Regions from separate parts of the Homo sapiens genome. Here all the other regions are linked to region 1. Evidence: promoter capture Hi-C in 16 types of primary human blood cells and fetal thymus (Javierre and others, 2016). All regions are on one chromosome and are shown on one strand. Each heading gives the region's core, a stretch centred on a gene start or on the middle of the fragment in contact. The rest is flanking DNA. Distances are from core to core; before and after follow the strand shown.

Region 1 (4,740 bases), core at 1,265-3,764:
CTGTCTGATCAGCGACATACCAGATTCTCATAGGAGCACAAACCCTATTGTGAAATGCACATAGGAGGGATCTAGGTTGCTCGCTCCTTATGAGAATCTAACTAATGCCTGATGATCTGAGCTGGAATAATTTTATCCCAAAACCATCCCTGCTCCGTCTGTGGAAAAATTGTTCTCCACAAAACAAGTCCCTGGTACCAAAAAGGTTGGGGACTGCTGTCCTAGCACACCTCATCTCTCTTATTCCTTAATGTTTCTGAAACTAAAAGCACTTTTAGAAAAATGTGTATAATTAAACCATCAAACAGCTGTTTAGAGATGAGAGAGCAATTTGGATTTCTGAAGCCATAAAGGTAAATTTGGCAAATATCCTAGTGAAGGTATGGTAGGGTCTACGTGTCACATTCATTCCCATGTCCAGGTAGCTCGCATTTTCAAACTAGAAAGGGTAATAAATGCTTTCCCTCCTTCCCCACATCCAAACATATCACAAGGATTTTGTTTTCCTTACTTCAAGAACCTTAAACATCTACAATTAGTTCAATATTCTAATATTCTTCTGCTTGTTGATATCACAAGCAGAAAATTGAGAAAGGTTATTCAATTGCTTTATCTCATCAGAAAAGAAAGGCTGTAAATTAGAAGCTTTAACCTGGTGTTACAGAAAAGCACAACAAATTTTAAACATACATACAAGGCCGGATGCAGTGACTCATGCCTGTAATCCCAGCACTTTGGGAGGCCAAGGCGGGTAGATCACATGAGGTCAGGAGTTCAAGACCAGCCTGACCAACACGGTTAAACCCCATCTCTACTAAAAATACAAAAATTAGCTGGGCATGGTGGCGGGCACCTGTAATCCCGGCTACAGCTACTCGAGAGTCTGAGGCAGGAGAATCACTTAAACCCAGGAGGCAGAGGTTGCAGTGGGCCAAGATCAGGCCACTGCATTGCACTCCTGCCTGGGCAACAAGAGCGAGACTCCATCTCAAAAAATAAAATAAACATATAAGTTTATAAATACATACACATGCATATGCACAAGTGCACACATATATTCCACAGCGTCACTAAGTATTAATTTGTACATTTATCGTGTAATGAACAAGCCCTATAGTATCTGTATGAATTCTGACCCATTATTACATCAACCTGAACCCATACTTCAGTCTTATAAATATGTGTAAACTCACTGACACGTGTTCTACGTACTTTTTAGATTTTCACAATTGCTTAGCCACTTTGCTAAGAGACCTGTGGTTATCAGCTACTATACATGTACAAAGAAATCAAAAAGATCTAAAATTGGGCTACCATTATTTGAAGAAAAAAGTTGAACGTCCTCTCATTCCAAGAAGGAAAATACGCACAGCATTCGAAATAGCACCATTATTATAGAACTGAGAGTTAGGTTACCCGACCCTGCAAGTTTAATATAGCCGGTGTTTCTAAGCTCTGCCTGGTCTCCACATCTCTGCTTGGAATTGAGTTTAAGGCTGAACTCTAAGTAAACAATTTCACGCGTGCTGAAAACCCAACTCTACCCCACTCGCTGATGAAACGAAGGTGACACCTCTCATTATTAAGGTCAGAATCTGTGCAAATGAAAAAGGACCAATCAATCACTTCACCTTCGAATGCAGGCCAAGGTTACAATCTGGGCAGCCTGTGGTGAGAATGAAAGAGCAGACGCTGCCGGTGAAGCAAGGCTGAGTTTCACTCAGAGGCAGGAAGCCCTGGAGCCTGTCCTTTCCCTCCCCAGGATGCCCGAGGGCCGGCCATGAGTAAAGGGCCCACCTCTGCGCTCAGCCCTAGAGGCTAAGGGACAACAGTTGATTTTAAGACAATTGTCCGTCCACGCCCTTTTGTTTTTTTCAAAAAAACAAACAACAAAAAAAACCCCAGCAGATCAGCGACCCGGCGTGTGGAACTGCCTCGCGGCTACCGCCCCCACTCACCGCACACCATCAGCAGCAGGACGATCAGCAGCGTGGCCACGAACACAAGCAGAGTCAGCCCGACGCTGTGCCACATCTTGGGGGCAGAAGGGCAGTCGGCTCGGGGCGGCTGGCGCGGACGGCGGTGAGCGCGGGCGGCGGCGCGTCCTGCGCTTCAGCGGCGGGCGCCAGGCGCGGCTGGGCGCCGGGGCGGCATGGGCGGCTGGCGCCCCCTCGGCAGCGCCCCCAGGGGGTGGGGCGGCGCAAAGGCGGGCACTGTGGGACCGCCCGCCCGCCCGATCCTTTTCCCGCCGGGGTGGCCAGAGCGCGGGAGGCAGGCGGGCCTCAGGGCGCCTCTAGTCCCTCATCGCCCCGGAGAGCCGAGGCCGCGGCACCCAGAGACCCCAGCGGTCGGATGCGCTTCCATGGCGGACGCCGCGCGCCTGTAGGGAGGACAGAGGGTAAGCACGGGTACACACGGCGGCCACAAGGCCCTCGTCGCTGTCCACCCGTGTCTCTGAGACCCCAGGGATGCCAGATGTCAGCGTCGCCCGGCCGCGGCTGTAGCGGCTTCTCCGCCCCAGGCCCCCTACCGCTGGGGCAGCTCATCACCAAGCTCGCCTCCTCCGCGGCGCGGGGTCGGCTGGGAGATGGAGTGCAGAGCCTGGTGGAGTCGGGACGGCGTTGTCTCGCAGGGACTACAACTCCCAGAATGCACCGCCACTCGGGCTTCGCTGCTTTCATTCTCGGGCGGCTCTGCCTTTGGTCTTGCTCAAGTCGCCTCAGTCGGACGACCGTGGGCTGGCCTTCTCCAAAGCCGCGGATCTGGCTGCCCGTCCTGCTGAGGCGCCAGTGAGATTTCAACCATTACTCCGTATACAAAGTCGTTTTGTTTCTAGCCGTAATCGATGAAGTACGGCGAGAGAGGAAAGAGGAGGCGGCTGCCTGAAAAACTGGTTGCTCGTGCACCTAGCCCTGTTGCCGGGGGCGAAGGTTGGCTATTTGGGACTTGGAGGAAGAACTCAGGTCCCTGCCGCAGACGCGGGTCAGGACACGAAATCTCATTTTCCCCCTGCAACAGATGTTATGTTCTATCTTTTCGTAAGTAAAGCATTTCAGAAATGGCCCGCGGGTGACTTAAGGACAGCTGCACTGCCCTCAAATCACCTGCCTGAGTTGTAAGTTAGACCCAGCTGCCTCCTTGAGACCAAGCTTGGAGATTTTGCCGCACTGGCTTACACCTCTACGAAACAAGACACTGTAGTAATCTCAACTACTGTATCTCCACCCAAAATTGAAACTCCCCACTTCCGCCAGATTACATTCATTTGTTAAAGAGGTGCCCCCAGAAGAATAGAGGGTAAATGTGTCCCTCTTTTAGAAGGAATCAGAGCCTTCGAGTTTTCCTGTGATTCTTTTGCTCCCTGAGATACCTTTTTACTCTTCTAAAAATTACAGTTTCCTGTCTTCTGTCTCCAAAAACAAACACAAAAGTTCTAAGCAGCAATCCCTTGATTTAATAAATGTATCCTGCCATACCCAGCTGCCCTACTATGTGAACTGTATTCCCTAAGAAGCAACATTAGGAACAAATACCATGTATAAAAATACATTAAAGGATAATTACTTGCTTTGCAACAGATTTAATATAGATTCCTGTGAAGAGAATGAACCCAGTGCAATTAAGATATATTTACAAAAAATCAGTGTGTGCTTTTTTCATGGGTGGTTCAATTATGTTGCATAATTAAAACACATTTTATTAAAAGCCAGTTGAAAATACGCGTCAGGGCTAGGCGAGGTGGCTCACGCCTGTAATCCCAGCACTTTGGGAGGCTAAGGCGAGCAGATCACCTGAAGTCAGGAGTTCGAGACCAGCCTGGCCAACATGGTGAAACCCTGTCTCTACTAAAAATACAAAAATTAGCCGGGGGTAGTGGTGGGCGCCTGTAATTCCAGCTACTCAGGAGGCTGAGGCAGGAGAATCGCTTGAACCCAGGAGGCCAAGGTTGCAGTGTGCCGAGATCACACCACTGCACTCCAGCTTGGGCAACAGAGAGACTCTTATCAAAAAAAAAAAAAAAAAGAAAAGAAAAGAAAACAGCCATCGGAAGAACTAAAATAATTTATTTTAAAGGACCTTTTTCTCTTTGATTCACATATATTGGAATACCTATAGGGGCCAGGCACTGTTCTAAGTGCTGGGGATACAGCAGTGAATAAGACAAAGTGCCTTTACTCAAGATGCTTATATGACAGTTGGAAAAAAACAGACAATAAGCATAAATAGAGAAATCTCAGGAACTGCTATTAATAGCAAGACAGTGTGATAAATGTAGGTGTGTTATTTTAGCTTGTTGGGGGATCAGGGAAGGTCTTCCTGAGGAAGTAACATTTAATCTGAGTCCTGAATGACAACAAGGATTCATGGAAAGACCTAGAGAAGAACATACCAGGTAAAGGGAACAGCTAGTGCAAAACCCACAAGAAGGAAATAAACCTGGCCATTGCTCTAAGCCTTTTCAATGTTTCTCAACTCTGGATGCACATTTCAAATCACGTAGGGAGATTTATAAATTACGAATGGCTAGACCTCATCCCCATACCAAATGAACAGAATCTCTGGGAGTAGGGCCTAAGCATGGTTGTTTTTTATTTTTGTTTTTGAGACAGTCTCATCCTGTCTGCCACAGCTGGCCGGATGCAGTGGCTCACACCTGTAATCCCAGCACTTTCGGGGCTGAGGTGGACAGATCACCTGAGGTCAGGAGTTCAAGACCAGCCTGGCCAACATGGTGAAACC
Region 2 (4,740 bases), core at 1,560-4,059, 6.5 Mb before region 1:
TCTAGTTGATTATTAATTCACCTACCAAAAGCTCTTTATACCTTTGTCTTTAGAGACTCCACAAGATAGCAAGAGGGAACAGGATAGTGAGAGGTAAATTAGTTCCTGGCCTAAAAGAATAGGTGAATAAAATCAAAGCAGGTTTGGAGGCTCTTTTTACCTATTTTTGATAGGTGAGATTCCCACACATCTTATAGAATTCAGTAAGCTATTTTTTTTCCTTTCTAGTTATTTCTTAAAATCAACAAGAAAACAATAAATCTAACAAAGCTCTTATAAAGAAATCATGACACTGACAAGCCCATTATCCATATAGTCACGTGTAGACAAACAGAATGTAATAAAACAAGATCATTAAACAGTAGAAATTAAAACCCTTCTGCAAATGTCCTCAACTTACTTTATCCCACTGAGGTGCATAATGCTTAAGACAATGGTTGCTTTTATAAAGAAGAGAATAAAGAAATCCACCATCTCTGCCATAAATCTGTGGGCCAAGGATGGAATAACATATTCTCTGCCTGTAAATTAAAAAAAAAAAAAAGTTAGGAAAAACGAATCATTTCACATAAGCCTTGGAACACAAGCCATGTAATGAATTGCTAAAGAAAGTCAAGGTACAACTTAATAAAAAATATTTATAACCGTGCAGCAACTATTGATATTGATTCCACCAAGAATCCATGTTACTAAAATAGAGTAACAGAGAATCCACTATTTACTGAGCTTAAAGTTTGCTTTCATCACCTTAACGTTTAAAAATTGATTTCACACGGCCAGGTGCAGTGACTCACGTCTGTAATCCCAGCACTTTAGGAGGCCGAGGCGGGCAGATTGCTTGAGGCCAGGAGTTCGAGACCAGTCTGGCCCTGGCCAACATGGCGAAACCCCGTCTCAACAAAAAATACAAAAATTAGCCGGGCGTGGTGGCGCATGCCTTTAGTCCCAGCTACTAGGGAAGCTGAGGTGGCAGGACGGCTTGAACCTGGGAGGCGGAGGCTGCAGGGAGCCAAGATCGCCACTGCACTATCCAGGCTGGGCGATAGAAGCAGACCTTGTCCCCACCCTCCCCACTTTCCCCCTAGAAAACTGATTTCACAGATAAATTTGATTAGGGTACCCACTACATTTCACTAGGAATTCTAATGAGGAGAATCCAGGTGATCACATCTAAGTCACACAAAATTAAACATTTTTTAGTACAAATCAAGGTTAAATATTGGCAATTAGTATAAAGTAAATCCCTGTAATCCCCCCCCACCCGTTTTTTAGTTTGTTTTGCTTTCTTTAAAATAAACCCAGTGAGTATCAATCTGTCATCCTAAATTCTGACTGGGATCAGAGGCATCAACTAGTTCTTGTCCCATCTATCTGTGGCTAACTAAAATAAACTAAAAGTCTAATAGTTTAAATAGTAAACTAAGAAGTGTAACTAATTCAAAATATTCTAGTTCACACACAGAAGCAAAAACAATTACACAATATACAAGATATTGATCAAATGAAGTGAAGCTTTGACCCAATCAAAACTTCCTAACTCCACTTGTATCCATGTCGATCTCCTTTTATATCCGTTCAGTTCCACTGTCCTAAGTAGCCAATGTCTGAATAATTTTCAGCATTACCAGTCGAGCCCCTCCAAAAGTGGGTTTGCCATTTGCGAATTTAGCTTTGGCCCTCACTGCAGAGCGTGAAAACCAAAGGAAGAGGATGGTTTGAAGAGCAATTTCTTTTCACGAATAAACAACTAGTCCCATGAGTAAGGGAGTCAATTTGGAGTGCCAGGTCTAAAGGAAGAAGAAACTGTATTGCCTCCTTGTACATTTTGGGAATTTAGGGCCTGGACAAACGATAGCTAGTGAACTGAACGGGCAGGATAGTCAATCAGAGTAGAAGCAGCAGTTACAGGTCTAAAAAGCGTGCCAGCTCTACCCCACAGGCCCCCGAAAACCCTTCTACTCCGCCCAGCCTCCACCTCGCGCTTCTCACCTGCCTGTCGCCCGGTCTCGCTCGGGCTTCGCGAAGGGGCTGCGGATCCTACCCTCGTCACTGGAGTGGCCCGGACCGACGCCTGCACGTGAGGAGCCCGGGGTCCCAGGCCCGCGACTGGAGCAGGGGTGCTGATGCCGGCAGCTGTCCGCGGGTCAGGCCCCGCGGCCCCGGGGCTCAGGAAGTAGAAGGGGTTGTAATAGCCCAGCTGCGGGGGCGGCGGCGCCGCGGCCTGGGGGACTGCAGCGCCGCCCGAAGGGAAGCTCTGCGGGGAGGGCTGGGGGCTGCAGTAGGCTGGGAAGGCGGCCAGGCCGCTGTGCCAGGTGAGGTAGCCGCAGTAGGACTGCCACAGCCACTCGTGCACTTGCCGGGAGTACTCGCGGGCGCTCAGCCGAGCTGGTCTCTCTCGTGGCGCCGCGGCTTCGGGCGCCTCGCAGCCCGCCTGCTCCTGCAGCTCTGCACCGGAGCCGGAGGCCGCCTCCCCGCGCTTCCTGAGCTCGCGCGGCGGCTCCAATTTGTCGGCTGCGGCGGCAGCCGCGAGGCCCGGGGCTGTGGGCCGGCCCGGGGCCTGGGGTTCGGCCTGGGGGTCGTCGCGGGGGCATGGGACGGCGGTGGTAGGAGGGCCTCTCAGGGAAGGGACGGGCTCGTGGTCCCCTCCGCCATCGTCCTGCCCGGGAGGGTGGCCTCGGGCTTCCTCGGGCCCCTCGGCCATCGTCGCCTCAGCAGCACCCTCTGGGATACCTGTCACTGCTCCGTTTCCCTCCCCCAATGGCCCCTCCCCAACAGCCCCGTCACCACCGCAGCAACCGCAGGCGTCAACAATCCCCCGCCGGAAGCGGAAGCCCCGCCCCTCAGGAGCAACGCCCGCCGCCAGGCGGAGCTGGGAAGGGAGGGCGGGGAGGTGCGTCTGCAGTCCCGGGTTCGGGCCCTAGTAGTCGGTGGCTGGTCGGTGACTGGGACCAGACCGTCGCCTCCTCCCTTTTACAGCTTTAAGTCTGTGACCCGAGGCCTCTCTGTATATTCCCGTGGGGTTGGGCCTAGTTGTCCTGGGAGAAACTAGATGGATGAGGAGTATTTCCGAGACAGGTCCCAGGGCCAGCGCAGCCTTTTCTGTTGCAGAACCGCGACTGTTGTTTTGGGATCCAGGCCGGAGGGTTTGTTGCTTGTGTTCATTCCAGTTAACCATTAGTACTCGAGAAGGTGGTACAGAACGCATCTATCCCCTTAGAAGAAAAGAAATTAAAAGCCAAACTAAACTGGGATATATATTAATATAGGAAACTACCACTGAGACATAGGAAAGTGTATTAAAATATAACTAGTGAGGTGCTATGTATAATTCAGAGGAAGGGGAAATTATGCATGGGCCAGACTACTAACAAAAGGCTCCAAAGCCTGGGATACGCTGAGGGCCTTTCCATAACAGAAAATGAAAAGGAACCTAAATTTGAGACTAGATTTGAGGAAAGGCACAGTTGCGCTGGAGTAGAAAGCGTCTGTCTACCGCAGTGGAAAGTAAGTTTTCGTAAATGCAGACTAGCTCCAGGGTGAGGACAGAATCTAGCTTTTAAATCAGTATAATCTCTCTTCTTTTACATTTGAAAATCTCTGCAGCGATATGTTATTGTATCCCCAGCACCATACAAAGGACATACAAGGGCCAAATACTGTGGGAATATTTATTAATGATATTAATGATGATGCTGTCCGGGCCAAAGGAAAACTTCCGCTTCACCTTCTGAAGTTTCGCTGAAAGTCACTGACAGGAGGCAGTTAATAGGAGAAAAGACATAGACATTGATTTGACCATCGTTTTATGTGACACGGGAGCCTTCAGAATGAAGACCCAAAGATAACAAGGGAAATCGTGTATTTGTATGCTTAGGTTCAACAAAGCATGGACAGCCGTATAAAAAAATGACTGGACAAGGCCGGGCGCGGTGGCTCACGCCTGTAATCTCAGCACTTTGGGAGGCTGAGGCGGGCGGATCACAAGGTCAGGAGATCGAGACCATCCTGGCTAACACAGTGAAACCCCGTCTCTACTAAAAATACTAAAAATTAGCCAGGCGTGGTGGCGGGCGCCTGTAGTCCCAGCTACTCAGGAGGCTGAGGCAGGAGAATGGCGTGAACCCGGGAGGCGGAGCTTGCAGTGAGCCGAGATTGCGTCACCGCACTCCAGCCTGGGCGACAGAGCGAGACTCCGTCTCAAAAAAAATGACTGGACAAAAAACACTCTGATGCAAACAGGCAAGAAACCCAGCAAGGCCTATCTGGATTCTCCTTGGCCTGTCTGCAGCATTCATTCCTTCTGGGTATGGAACAGGACCCTCTGGAATGGGGGCTGTGGCCTACAACAGTTAAACAAGGTAGGTCAGATAATTTTTCTTTTCCTTCTTTTTTTTTTTTTGACAGAGTTTTGCTCTTGTCGCCCAGGCTGGAGTGCGATGGTGCGATCTCGGCTCACTGCAACCTCCCCCTCCCAGGTTCAAGTGATTCTCCTGTCTTAGCCTCCCGAAGTAGCTGGGATTACAAGCGCCCGCCATCACGCCCAGCTAATTTTTTTTGTATTTTTAGTTGAGACGGGGTTTCACCATGTTGGCCAGGCTGGTCTTGAACTCCTGACCTCAGGTGATCCACCCGCCTCGGCCTCCCAAAGTGCTGGGATTACAGGCGTGAGCCACTGCGCTCTGCCAGATAATTTCTCTATGTCCAATATTTGCACAGAAAGGGGTGCAGGGAGGTTAGAGT
Region 3 (4,740 bases), core at 1,313-3,812, 6.1 Mb after region 1:
TATTATGTTTTTCATGTTTTTAAGAGATCACTCTGGATGCTGAGTGGAGAATGGACTGTGGGAGGGCAAGAGAGGCAGCAAGGAGAAGGTTTGGAGGCAGTCTTGGGCAGCAGGCCAGTAAGTGACGAAGGTGGCTGAAACTGGCTGTAGAAACGCAGAGAGCAAGAAGAGGCTGCAATCAGGATGCGTGCTGCAGGCAGGGCCACAAGACTTACTGTGGGATTGCATGGCGGGTGAGAAGGGAAGAAGTCAGGGGTGAGTCCTTGTACTAGAGTCATCTGGATACTCCGCTCAGGGAAGAGGCGCCACATCTAGGGGTTATCAGCAGCCAGAGAGGAGGACTTAAAGCTGCAAGACTCTGTGGGGTCTCTCTTGAGAAGAGGGCAGTTTATATCTCTCAATACATTTTTCAGCTGATATTTACATAGATAGAATTTATTTTGCATCTTCAAAATATGCAACATTTTAAACTAAATGGTTTGCTGGAAAAGCTTCACGGTGCTTCCAAATACAATTGGTAGACCATCAGGATCACACCAGTCACTTTGTGGAGTTTTGGAATGTCGACAAAGGAGAGGTACATCCGTGATGTTTCAGTCTTGGGCCACTGCTACCACACACAAAGCAACTGTCTGGTGACAATTACATTAAATATGAGGTGACCAAGAAGCAATGCTTTAAGCCTTTTACATCTTAACATGTTATTAGTAGCTGTTATTTATAAAACATCTAGCTGCCATATTGTGATCTAGGAAATTAGTAGGGTTTTTTTTAATTAACTTGCCACGCCTTATAATTCTGCTGTTTAAAATAATGGGAAACAGGTTCTCATTAGGTTTTTCCTTGGAAAGAAAATGTGACATTTCAGTCATAGATTACATTTTGACTTTTTTTTTTTTTTTGAGACAGAGTCTCACTCTGTCGCCCAGCCTAGAAGTGCAGTGGCGAGATCTTGACTCACTGCAACCTCTGCCTCCCAGGTTCGAGTGATTCTTCTGCCTCAGCCTCTTGAGTAGCTGGGATTACAGGCATGCGCCACCACACCCTGTTAATTTTTGTATTTTTAGTAGAAAGCGTTTCACCATGTTGGCCAGGGTGGTCTTGAACTCCTGACCTCAGGCGATCTGCTCGCCTCGGCCTCCCAAATTGCTGGGACTACAGGCGTGAGCCACAGCACTCAGCCAGATTACCGATGTTTTTAGTGGCAGATGACTTTCCGGCCTTGTCTTAGTTTTAATTTTTTTTTTTGAGATGGGGTCTTACTATATTGTCCAGGGTGGTCGTGAACTTCTGAGTTCAAGTGATCCTCCCACCTCAGCCTCCCAAAGTGCTGGGACTACAGGCGTGAGCCACTGTGCTCGGCCAGATTACTGATGTTTATAATGGCAGATGACTTTCCAGCCTTGTCTTAGTTTTATTTTTATTTTTGGAGATGGGGTCTCACTATATTGCCCAGGCTGGTCTTGAACTCCTAAGCTCAAGTGATCCTCCCACCTCAGCCTCCCAAAGTGCTGGGATTACAGGCATGACCCACTGTGACTGGCTTAGTTTTAAATTCTTAATTATTTACCTTGTAAACTACTTAATTCCATTTCTTCCACATCTCATAGAAAAACTGATGTTCCAGGAAGATGTATCACCAATATTCTGCTGTTTTGTATCCTGCCAGTGCAGAATTGGGGCTGTGCCTCTCTAGTTTGAGAAGCATGTAGTAACATACTTGATTTTGCCCTGATCAGTAACGTACCGCATGCTGGGAGCCGCAGTCTCTTAACCGCTCCAAGCCCGTGACAGAAAAACGAAATGGAAAAATGACTTAGGAGAATTATCACTATTAACCCCCAGAAACAACACATTATTAAAAGCGGTTCTGAAGGGCTATTTAAAAGGGAACTCAATAGTAGTTTCAAAGGAGTCCTATTGTAAGGCAAAAATTGTGCTTTACCTTCCCGCACAACCTTCCCTAATGTTTTGGGAAGGACTGATACAAACTTTTAGTCCTGTTGGCCTGTGTTAATAATGGCCAAGAGGTCCCCAATGGGTAACAGAGTCCTGTGAACCAAACAGTGTGAGAAGTCAGAAAGCAGCTGGGTGTGGCCCCCAAAGCAGCTTAGGGGGTTACTTAACTGTGCGGCTACATTTCTTGACCATATACTAAAGGAACTGGGCCTTTCCATGCGATGTTTTCCTTTTATAACGGTGGCAGGAAGCGGTCCCTCTGAGGGGCCTGACCGAGGTATGCGCCGGCGCCAGGCTGGGGTCCAAGGGGCGCTCCGAGGCGGGGCCCACAGAGAGGGTTTAGGGCAATTCCAAGGGATGGCGGGGACGGAGGAAAAGTGGCGTTGAAAAGGCAAGAGCCAGGTTCCCAGCCACTGGGACAGTGAATTTACAGCTTCAGACATCCACCAAAGAGCGGCTGCGTGGGCTCCTAAGAAGTCTAAGAACTGCTCAGAAATCCAGCGCCGCCATCCCCACTCCACCGCCGCCAGGGGCGCACAGCAGCGGGTATGCGGCCGGAGGGAAGGGGCGGGGCGGGAGGAAGGGGCGGGGCGTGCCCCGCCAGCGGAGGCCGGGAGGACCAGGAACCCAGGAGAGCATGGCCACGCTGCGCCGGCTTCGGGAGGCGCCGCGGCACTTACTGGTTTGCGAGAAATCCAACTTCGGCAACCACAAGTCGCGCCACCGGCATCTTGTGCAGACGCACTACTATAACTACAGGGTGAGTCCGGCTGTCCTCGGCTTTTCGGGCCGTGCTCAGTCCCCGCGTGCGAGAGAGGTTTGGGGAGAGTGCTAGGCTTCGCGGGGCGGGGCCGCCGGCGGTACGCGGAGGGGCGGGGCCCTCGCCCGGCTTGCTGGGAGTTGTAGTCTCTTAACTGCTCTAAGCCAGTGGCTTGCAGGGCTACAGGACTACAACTCCCAGGATGCGCCGGGCGTGGGGGCGGTACCCAGTCTGGAGGGAGCTGTTGTCAGGGGCGTTCTGGCTGCTCACTCGTGTCAACCCGCCGAACTGGGAGTGAGTCCAGGGAGGGATTCGAGGTTCAGGGCCGGGACCAGGGAGTTAGGCTGTGGGGCAGCCACGTGCACCTCGCTTTTTCCCCAAATCAGGGCGGGTCTCGCGCCTCCTCCCCACCACTGCCTCCTCCCCAGCTTGAATCCCTCTCCCACCTGCGTACCTGTGGATCTCACCAGAGCATCCTGCCTAGGCTCGGCCCAGGAAGCGACTGATTTTCCTTTTTTTTTTTTTTTTTTTTTTAGACGGAGTTTCGCTCTGTCGCCCAGGCTGGAGTGCAGTGGCGCGATCTCGGCTCACTGCAGGCTCCGCCTCCCGGGTTCACGCCATTCTCCTGCCTCAGCCTCCCGTGTAGCTGGGTCTACAGGCGCGCGCCACCACGCCCGGCTAATTTTTGTATTTTTAGTAGAGACGAGGTTTCACCGTGTTAGCCAGGATGGTCTCGATCTCCTGACCTCGTGATCCGCCCGTCTCGGCCTCCCAAAGTGCTGGGATTACAGGCGTGAGCCACCGCGCCCGGCCGAAGCGACTGATTTTCTAAATTGGTTGTTGGAACTAATTTGATATCTGAGAGACTTCAAGAAACTAACCTTATCATGGGGGATTAAACATTTTACACTTTAAATGGATCAGCTTAATAACTCAGGTTTGACTGAGCAGTGTTTCAGAGATGTTAAGTGGTGACCTGATCAGTCAGAACAGGCTGGTGTTTGAGCCTTGGGACAGTGATGACTTTTACAATGTGGCAACATTTGAAGCCTGCCCTGTTTTTAACACCTATTTTGGATGTCAAGCTCATCACAGCAGTCAGGGATGTATACTTTAACTCGCCTGTTGCATTTTTCTGTCTCGAAAATGAAAACATACAGGAGCACCATTGCTTGCACATAGATTCTTAGTAATTGGATGTCCATAAATTAATTCCTTATGCCCCGACAGATAGTTTGTTTCATTCCAGGATAACACCAGGGTAAACAAATCAAGGGATATTCAATTATACTATATTTCCTTGAAAATAAAATAGTGAAAGGAACAGGACATAAAATATACAGCATTGCTAATTTGCAAAAGATTAAATGCAAGCACGAGTTTTCCATTAAAAGTATTCTGTTCAATCCCCTTCCTGTACTGTACGTTTGAATGCAGAAATGAAAAACTTAAGTAGTCAGATTTCTCTTTGCCTGAGATAGGTAAGTTAACATAAGAGTTTTGTTGCCCGTGTTTTTATGTTCCAGTGAAACTCGTGGAGAAATAACAACTTTCATGATTTTGTTTCATTCCTAAAAACCTGGGTGTTCATCTTCATGGAAGTAAGACCTTGTTTGTATTACACATTCCAATAGGTTTCATTTCTCATTCCTGAATGTGGGATACTATCGGAAGAACTGAAAAACCTGGTCATGAACACTGGACCCTATTACTTTGTGAAGAATTTACCTCTTCATGAATTAATTACACCTGAATTCATCAGTACCTTTATAAAGAAAGGTAAGAAAAACCTGAAATGGCTGTGAACAAGGCTGGATGAGGAAGGGTAGGGAGACCACATCACGATGCTAGGGCTGTTGTTTTGTTTCAAACAGGGCCTGTGGTATAGTCTGTGTGGTCAGGTGCACACGCGTTCTCCCCCGCATTCTCATCCTGTTCTTTCTTGTACCCTCTTTAGGTGGTGGTTTCTGATTGCAATTGGCCACAAGTGTTGGATGGGGATGTTGTAACATGACAGTATC

Evidence for each region. Contacts are between HindIII fragments. The CHiCAGO score rates a contact against its expected background, and 5 or more counts as called.
Region 2: the fragment with the promoter of FAM8A1 here is called in contact with the fragment with the promoter of SMIM13 in region 1 in 1 of 17 cell types (non-activated CD4 T cells); the score reaches 6.2 in non-activated CD4 T cells.
Region 3: the fragment with the promoter of RPP40 here is called in contact with the fragment with the promoter of SMIM13 in region 1 in 3 of 17 cell types (naive CD8 T cells, fetal thymus and non-activated CD4 T cells); the score reaches 6.4 in naive CD8 T cells.

What each region holds. Positions count from the first base shown.
Region 1 is chr6:11,091,608-11,096,347 of GRCh38, reverse strand. SMIM13 (small integral membrane protein 13) reads right to left here and starts at 2,514. Exons shown (of 2, transcript NM_001135575.2): 1 at 1,959-2,514. The coding sequence starts at 2,034. RefSeq lists enhancers at 1,825-1,944, 1,825-2,366, 2,615-2,824, 2,367-2,907 and a silencer at 2,045-2,354. The HindIII fragment of the contact is 2,504 bases long and covers 648-3,151 here.
Region 2 is chr6:17,598,371-17,603,110 of GRCh38, reverse strand. It overlaps FAM8A1 (family with sequence similarity 8 member A1), which reads right to left and starts at 2,809. Exons shown (of 5, transcript NM_016255.3): 1 at 1,990-2,809; 2 at 401-521. The coding sequence starts at 2,701. It overlaps LOC102724591 (a long non-coding RNA gene), which reads left to right and starts at 4,135. Exons shown (of 5, transcript XR_007059485.1): 1 at 4,135-4,358. RefSeq lists enhancers at 403-903, 904-1,404 and a silencer at 2,471-2,950. The HindIII fragment of the contact is 5,181 bases long and covers 1,515-4,740 here.
Region 3 is chr6:5,001,859-5,006,598 of GRCh38, reverse strand. It overlaps RPP40 (ribonuclease P/MRP subunit p40), which reads left to right and starts at 2,562. Exons shown (of 8, transcript NM_006638.4): 1 at 2,562-2,719; 2 at 4,354-4,498. The coding sequence starts at 2,597. It overlaps LYRM4-AS1 (LYRM4 antisense RNA 1), which reads right to left and starts at 2,783. Exons shown (of 4, transcript NR_126015.1): 1 at 2,640-2,783. RefSeq lists silencers at 2,452-2,581, 2,712-2,961. The HindIII fragment of the contact is 5,117 bases long and covers 494-4,740 here.